Regions from separate parts of the Homo sapiens genome. Here region 1 is linked to region 2. Evidence: promoter capture Hi-C in 16 types of primary human blood cells and fetal thymus (Javierre and others, 2016). All regions are on one chromosome and are shown on one strand. The core of a region is centred on a gene start or on the middle of the fragment in contact, and the rest is flanking DNA. Distances in the headings are between cores, read along the strand shown. Region 1 overlaps WDTC1 (WD and tetratricopeptide repeats 1). Region 2 holds the start of TENT5B (terminal nucleotidyltransferase 5B).

The links. Contacts are between HindIII fragments. The CHiCAGO score rates a contact against its expected background, and 5 or more counts as called.
Region 1: a contact is called between a fragment that was not itself captured here and the fragment with the promoter of TENT5B in region 2, in 3 of 17 cell types (endothelial precursors, M0 macrophages and M1 macrophages). The highest score is 7.0, in endothelial precursors.

The regions. Positions count from the first base shown.
Region 1 is chr1:27,276,781-27,280,907 of GRCh38, forward strand. All of the region lies in intron 3 of WDTC1 (WD and tetratricopeptide repeats 1), which reads left to right. Among named protein-coding and RNA genes, the nearest start is that of TMEM222, 43 kb to the right of the region's middle. The HindIII fragment of the contact is 1,952 bases long and covers 1,746-3,697 here.
Region 2 is chr1:27,010,525-27,014,640 of GRCh38, forward strand. TENT5B (terminal nucleotidyltransferase 5B) reads right to left here and starts at 2,326. Exons shown (of 2, transcript NM_052943.4): 1 at 1,883-2,326. The coding sequence starts at 2,146. RefSeq lists enhancers at 1,572-2,225, 2,226-2,880. The HindIII fragment of the contact is 29,862 bases long and covers 1-4,116 here.

The DNA of each region.
Region 1 (4,127 bases), core at 1,472-3,971, 270 kb after region 2:
TTCATTTCCCTAATGACTAATGATGTTGAGCATGTTTTCATGTGCTTGTTGTCATATTTGTGTATTTTCTTTGGAGAAATGTCTGTTGAGATGCTTCACTCATTTTTTAATTGGGTTGTCCTTTTTTATTGTTGAGTTATAAGATATGTATGATTTGAAATTTTGTTTCTTTTCCTTTGTGTGTTGTCTTTTCATTTTTAAATGGTGACTTTGCATAAAAGTTTTAATTTTAATGAAATTCAATTTATGTTTTATTTTTTTTTTTTAATTGATATGGGATCTGTCTCTGTAACCCTCACTGGAGTGCAGTGGCACAGTCATGGCTTACTGCAGCCTTACCCTCCCAGGCTCAAGCAATCCTCCCATCTCACCCTCTTGAGTAGCTGGGACTGCAGGCGCACACCACCATGCCCAACTAAACTTTTTTTCTTTTGTTGCTGGTGCTTTTGGTGTTGTGTCTTAAAAAACATTGCCTAATCCAAGGTCATGAATATATACACCTGTGTTTTCTTCTAAGAGTTTTGTAGTTTTAGATTTTATATGTAGGTCTTTGATCCATTTGAATTAATTTTTATGTATGGTGTGAGGTAAGGATCCAACTTCATTCTTTTACATGTGGACATCCACTTGTCCTGGCACCATGTGCTAAAAAGACTATTCTTTCCTTCTACTTAATTGCTTGACACTCTTTTTTTTTTAAGAGACGGAGTCTGGCTATGTTGCACAGGCTGGTCTCAAACTCTTAGTCTCAAGTGATCTTCCTGTCTTAGTCTCCCAAATAGCTGGGATTATAGGTACAAGCCCCTGTTCCCAGCCTGTCTTGATACTCTTATCAGAAATCAATTGACTGTAAATTTAAGGATGTATTTATGAACTCTCAACTCTAGTCCATTGATCTAAATGTCTATTCTTATGCCAGTACCACACTGTTTTGATTGCTGTAGCATTGTAGTAAGTTATAAAATTGGGAAGTATGAGTCTTTCAACTTTGTTCATTTTTCAAGATTGTTTTGTCTATTCTGGGTCTCTGGTATTTCCATATGAGCTTTATTTTATTTTAATTTGAAAAAAATTTTTTGAGACAGAGTCTCACTCTGTTGCCCAGGCTGGAGTGCAGTGGCATGATCTTGGCTCACCGCAACCTCCACTTCCTGGTTTCAAGCGATTCTCCTGCCTCAGCCTCCTGTGTAGCTGGGATTACAGGCATGCATGATGACACCCAGCTAATTTTTTTTGTGTTTTAGTAGAGATGGGGTTTCACCATGTTGGCCAGGCTGGTCTCAAACCCCTGACCTCAAATGATCAGCCCAACTCAGCCTCCCAAAGTGCTGGGATTACAGGCGTGAGCCACCACACCTGGCCCATATGAGCTTTAAATTCAAATTTATTGCCACCTGTTTTTATAAGTAAAGTTTTATGGGAACACAGCATACTCACTTATGTATTGCTTATGTTTGCTCTAGTGATTCAATGGTAGAATTGAGTAGTAGTGATATAGACCATATGGCCTGCAAGACCTACAATATTTACTATCTGAGCCTTTACAGAAAAGATTGCTGACCTCTGCTTTAGATGATGGAGTAAACTCATGCTTTGAAGTACCAGAGGGCAGAACTAGGAACTATTCATTAATTCAGTCATATTTTCAAGCAAATATTGAATGCCTACTATATGACAGAAATGTTCTAGACACTGGGAAAATAATATAGCAGTGAATAAGACCAACACAATTCCTGGCCCCATGAAGCTTCTTGCCATGACCTGTAAAACACCCTTAGGATCTGGCCTCTGCTCACCTCCCTGAGCCCATCTTGCTCATCTTACTCTGTCCCCTTCATCACAATGCTCTAACCACATTGGCTTTCATTCTGTTTCTTTGGCATTATCAGGCCTGTTATTTTTATACTCATTATTCCATATGCCTGAAATGCTTTTCCTTCACATCTTTATGTAACTTGCTACTTCTCAGCATTCAGATTTCACCTCAAATATTAATTCCTCAGAGCGGCTTTCCCTGACCACTATATCTAAAGTATATCCAGGCCAGGTATGGTGGCTCATGCCTGTAATCCCAGCACTTTGGGAGGCCAAGGCCAACATGGCAAAACCCCGTCTCAACTAAAAATACAAAAATTAGCCAGGTGCAGTGATGTGTGCTTCGAACCCCAGCTACTTGAGAGACTGAGGCAGAGAATTACTTGAACCTGGGAGGTGGACGTTGCAGTGAGCTGAGATTGCGCCACTGCACTCCAGCCTGGGTGACACAGTAATACACTGTCTCAAAAAATAAAAATAAATAACATATATTCATCACACTTAGTACCATCTGAATTCATCTTACTGATTTATATGTTTGTTTATTTTCTCTCTTACCCTACTAGAGTTCTCTTAATTGCCACAACAACCTTTGCATGTGTAAGAATGCCTAGTATATAATAGGTGCTTGAATAATTGTTAAAAGATTGAATTAAGGCCGGACACAGTGGCTCACGCATGTAATCCCAGCACTTTGAGAGGCTGAGACAGGCAGATCACTTGAGCCCAGGAGTTCAAAACCAGCCAGCCTGGTCAACATGGCAAAACCCCATCTCCACAAAAAATACAAAAATTAACCAGGTGTGGTGGCACGCATCTCTAGTCCCAGCTACTCAGGAGGCTGGGGTGGGAGGATCGCTGGAGCCCGACCAGAAATATAATCGCTCCTTTTCATGACTTTTAGGAGGATTTTTCTTTCTCCAATATAGTTCACATTGGGCTGTGCTTACATTTTTTGTTTCTTGGGATTTTTTTGTTTTTGTTTTTGTGAGACAGAGCCTTGCTCTGTTGCCCAGGCTGGAGTGCAGTGACGTGATCATGGCTCACTGTAGCCTCCACCTCCCGGATTCAAGTGATCCTCACACCTTAGCCTCCCCAGTAGCTGGGACTACAGGTGCACGCCACCACACCTGGCTAATTTTTTAAATTTTTGTAGAGCTAGCATCTCACTATGTTGTCCAGACTAGTCTCCAACTCCTGGGCTCAAGCAATCCTCCTGCCTAGCCTCCCAAAGTGCTGAGATTACTGGTGTGAGCCACCATGCCCAGCCTGTGCTGTAAGTCTTGAACTCTCTTGGTGCAATGGAAAAGACATATTTGGATTTTATTTCTGATTCTGCCACTCAGCTATCAAAGTAACCACTCAAAGTGCTTTACAAATACTGTTCATTTCCCACAACAACCCTATGAGGCTATCTACAATTATTATCTTTTTTACTGATGTAGAGCCTGAGACACAGAGAGGTTAAAGAACTTGCTCAAGGAAATACAGCTTGTACACATAAAATGATATTTGTTGTATTTTATGGACAACTTAATGGATTTTCAAGGGTAATTATGTGAAGTACTTAGGACAGGGCCTGACACATAGTAAGCTAAGTTTACCTATTCTTATAATTATTACTACTCCATATAAGTAATTCTTAGGCACACTAAAATTTGAGAAAACATTGAGCTGGATTAAAGAAGGAACAAAAGAAAAGATTTTATGGAAATGTCTGGATATTCAAATCATTCTGACTTTAAGACAACATATCATTAAGTCAATGGAGAGTGAGTGAGGAATTTTTTAAAGTTTTATTTGCTGTCAGAACTTACTCCATTCTGTTAAAATATTGCACCTACATAACCTTAATACATGGTAATAAGTATGTGTATTGTGAAGCTTAAATAAATTGACAAAAGTGAAAGCTTAGCATCTACCCTGGCATTTAGTAAGTGTTCTGTTAATTTTGCTGGATTTTAATCTAAATCTTGCTTGTTCAGACTCATTCATGCTGTTTTTTAAGAAGTTAGAGAGAAGCACTTGGCTGTCTGCTTCCTGTCTTTCCTAGTTGGCATTTTTTGTGGAGGCTTCATTAAATATCTGTAACTTTCATGCTCTTTGACATTGACCCTTTAGGTTGAGCCTCATTACACAAGGGTTTAGGCCTGAAGTCAGCAGGTACGTTAAATGTGTATATGATGAATCTCACTGGGTTGTAGTTAAGAGAGGGTCCTTATGTGTAGCTACACAAACTGGATCACAGGCTTTGCCTGAAAGTCAGAAAATGTTCTCAAAGATCCTTTAAGCCTCTTCCTAAAGCCTGACAT
Region 2 (4,116 bases), core at 1,076-3,575:
GTGAAGGCACCTGTCCCCTTTGGAGTCTGGAACCAGAGAGGGTGTTGGAGAGCAGCAGCCTAATCTATCCATCCCAGTTGAACAGATGGGGACACTGAGCCCAGCAAAGAGAATTGACAACAAACAGTCCAGGGCCTGAATCCAGAAGTCCAACTTCCCAGCCCAGCTCTGAAGTCTCTGCTGCCCTTCCTCACCATCGCCGACAGCTCCCTGTTCTGTGCTATCTCTGACCCAGGTCTAGAAGGACATGGCACCACCATTGCATTGTAAAGTTAGCTTCTATTGACCTGGAGTCTCCCCCATCTGGCTAGGAGCACCTGAAGGGATGGAGGCTGAGTCCTAGTCACATCTGTGCCCTTGGTTTCCTAAACAGGGCTTGGCACAGAGCAGACACCAAGAGGCAATCTGAGCCATACTGACAGGGCAAGGACTTCTCCTCCTTCCAGGGTATCCCTTGTTCTTGCAGAGGGGGGCTGCCACACTGGGCTCCACCTTCCCCTCCCTGCCATGCCTGGGGCCACAATCCTGGAGGTGCAGCAGCTGGGGCCCCAGGAATGACTTGACTGTCCCGGGGATTAAAGCCTCGACTGGTTTCCTAATCACCCAGGTGACAGCGAGCAGCCGAGGAATGCCTCGGCGAACTCCACTGGGCCGCGTGTGAGTCAGCCAAGGAGAATCTGCCCCCGCCCCCTCCAGTTCCTAGTTCCTTGGGAGGGTGGGGGAGGTAATCCCCCAGCAGGCAACCCTCCCCCTCTGTGGGAAGCCAAGGTAGTAGGAGGCAGGGGAAAGGCCTACTTCATCCAAAGGAAGCCATCAGTTGGCAGGAACGCACAGGAGTCCTCGCTGGGTTTCTTGGTTTCTTTTATCAAAGGACCCTCCCTAACACCTAGAAGTTGACCTTGGGAGCCGGGGAAGGGGTGGGAAAACATTGAACCTACTGTAATCTGCTCCTGGGAAGACCCAAAATTCCCTAGGTTTGATTTTCACCTCATTAAGTAATCTTGGGTGGCAAACTGCCCCAGCTATAAAATGGGTACAATAATGACCACACTGTGGTATTTCAGAACATGACAGCGTCTGGGCTGTACAGATGAAAAAGCAGTCTTGGGGTCGTTGAGGTTCAGATAAAGGGAAGAGTTGGAGGAGGGAGGGGCTGTCAGAATTCTCTTCTCCCTTTCCTCAGGAGAGAGAGGACGTGGGGCCTGAGGCCTGGGTTGGCCTTCATTTCCAATCTTGGGAAGGAGAAGAAACACCTAAATTGGTCACTTAATGTTGCCCTTGGGGGTGGGGTATCAGGTCTGACCTTCGGCTTAATAAATATTGGGCCACAACCCCAGCTGAGAGAGAGGGAGTCCCTGACAAGTTTTCTTGGCTTTTCCACGGGGTGGAGGGGGAAGGGGGGGTTTCTCCAGCAAAAGGCTGTAGGAGCACAATGGCAGAGGCTGCTCCTAGAACCTCGAGAGAGGAAAGGAGGGTGAGGTCCAGGGATGCCCAGATAGGGAAGGAAAAGCTATTTTGGACTCAAGCATGCACACTTACCCACCCAGGGCCACCTGGCGTCTTTTGTCCTTGCAGGCAGAGACAAATTCTTCCCCCAATGCCCTTGACATCCTCCTCCCCTCTCCCAGCCAGGCCCTGGGTGAGTGATCCGTGGGGAATCAGGGTTCTCCAAGAGTCGAGATGGAAAAGCCAGGTGGGGAAGGATTAGTAGATGCAGGGGGAGGTCTGGTCTACCATTCATAATGCTGTGCAATTGTTACAGCCATGTCCCCGTTCCTCAGTTTCCCTAGCTGTCTAGAAAGTCAAACAGACTACAAATGCCTTCCAGCCACGAGAGCCTCAGAAGGGATTCCCCCACATCCCCCGCCTGGCGTCCTCTCACCTGCACGATCTGCCGGGGCTGCACGCTCAGCGTGGGGAAGTTGCCGCGCCCGTGAATGGGAATCGGCTCGCTCAGAAGAGCGTCCAGTCGCTTCACCTGTGGCCAGCTCAGCCCACTCAGGTGCCGTCCGGGGAAGGCCGATAAGGCCTCCGGGTCGGGGCCGCCGCCTGCCGGGGCTGCCGTGGCCACCGCCGTGGCCGCAGCCGTCCCCACCTGAGCAGCCGCCCGGTCCCTGCGCTCAGCTCCGCTCTCCGACGGCATCATCCGCCCGGCCCCCGGGCCCCGACGGCAGAAACCGTGGGGGTGGTTAAGGGGAGGAGGACAGGGAGAGCGGCTGGGCAGGGGCCAAGGCGGGGGGCACGAAGGCAGGGACGGGGCGGCAACGACGGCGAGACAAAGCCAGGGAACACCTCAGACGGCGACGACTAACCGACCCTAGCGCCTGCAGCCCGCGGCCCAGCGGACTCTTATAGGCCGCGGGCGACGTGCCCATTGGTCCGGGCCGCTGCCAACAGCGAGAGCCGCCCCGCCTCTGAACGCTCCGGACACTGGTCTGTAGAGCTTTGCACGTGAGTCACTGTTCTCTAGGGAGATTCCGATTGGCTAGAGGGCACGCCCCTGCCCCGCCCTCCTTCTCAGGCTGAATTCCCTCCTTTGGTCCTTAAAGAACTTCTGTTCACTGTGATTGGCCCGGGCCTGGACTTAAAGGGACAGCGCCCACCCCGCCCCGCCAGGGTCAGGAGGGAGGGAAGTGACCTGCGGAGTTTGTAGCAGAGTCAGACCACTGAGAAATTCCAGGTTTCTGTTTTTTTTTTTTAGCGCTGGAAGAAATTGAGAAGTCACCTAGCCTTGTCCTGCTATTTTCAGAAGCCCAAAGAGATTGAGCCACGTGATCAACTCTGCACAGCACTGCTCATGCTCTGGCAGTTTTCCAGAGCCTAGGAAAGGTATAATAAACAACTCTGGGCCCGGCGCGGTGGCTCACGCCTGTAATCCCAGCACTTTGGGAGGCCGAGGTGGGCGGATGACAAGGTCAGGAGATCGAGACCATCCTGGCTAACACGGTGAAACCCCGTCTTTACTAAAAATACAAAAAATTAGCCGGGTGTGTGGCGGGCGCCTGTAGTCCCAGCTACTCGGGAGGCTGAGGCAGGAGAATGGCGTGAACCCGGGAGGCGGAGCTTGCAGTGAGCCGAGATTGCGCCACTGCACCCCAGCCTGGGCGACAGAGCGAGACTCCGCCTCAAAAAAAAAAAAATTAATAATAATAATAAACTCTGCATACCAAGGTAAAGGCCTTTTTTTTTTTTTTTTTTTTTTTTTTTCTCGAGACAGAGTCTCGCTTTGTCACCCAGGCTGGAGTGTAGTGGCGCGATCTTGGCTTACCGCAAGCTCCGCCTCCCGGGTTCAAGCAATTCTCCTGCCTCAGCCTCCCGATTAGCTGGGATTACAGGCATGCGCCACCAAGCCCGGCTAATTTTTTTGTGTTTTTAGTAGACACGGGGGTTTCACCATATTGGCCAGGCTGGTCTTGAACTCCTGACCTTGTGATCCACCCACCTCGACCCCCAAAGTGCTGGGATTACAGGCGTGAGCCACTGTGCCCGGCCCTAAAGTAAAGGCTTTCTAAGACACTGTTGATTGGCCTCGCAAACCACAGCATGATGAGCGTTGATGTACAGCATAGCCAATTTAGGGAAGGAGAGATCTGCTCAGAGAGGCTTTGTGATTACCCGACTGTCACACAGCAAACTAGTAAGGCCCTGGTCCTCAACCAGGGCTATAGAATCTGTGGTGCATGTTTTTTCCACTGTACCTATGCAGACCCAGCTCCTTTCTGGAGCTAGAGAACGAATAATGTGTTTACATGTTTTTCTGCAGGTCTAGACAAAACATAATTTAAAAAAAATATGTTTACATGTTTTGCTCTCACACTTTACAGGACCTAGGGGATGAGGCTTATGATTGTCGTTACTTTTATTTTTTATTTTTATCTATTTATTTATTTTTTGAGAGAGGGTCTCACTCTGTTGCCTGGACTGGAGTTGACTGTCATGATCATGGCTCACCACAGCCTCAACCACCCTGGCTCAAGCAATCCTCCCAATCCCAGCCTCCTGAGTAGCTAGGACTACAGGCACACGCCACAGCACCCAGCTAATTTTTCTGTTTTTTTTTTTTTTTTTGTAGAGATAAGGGTCTGGCCATGTTGCCCAGGCTGGTCTTGAACTCCT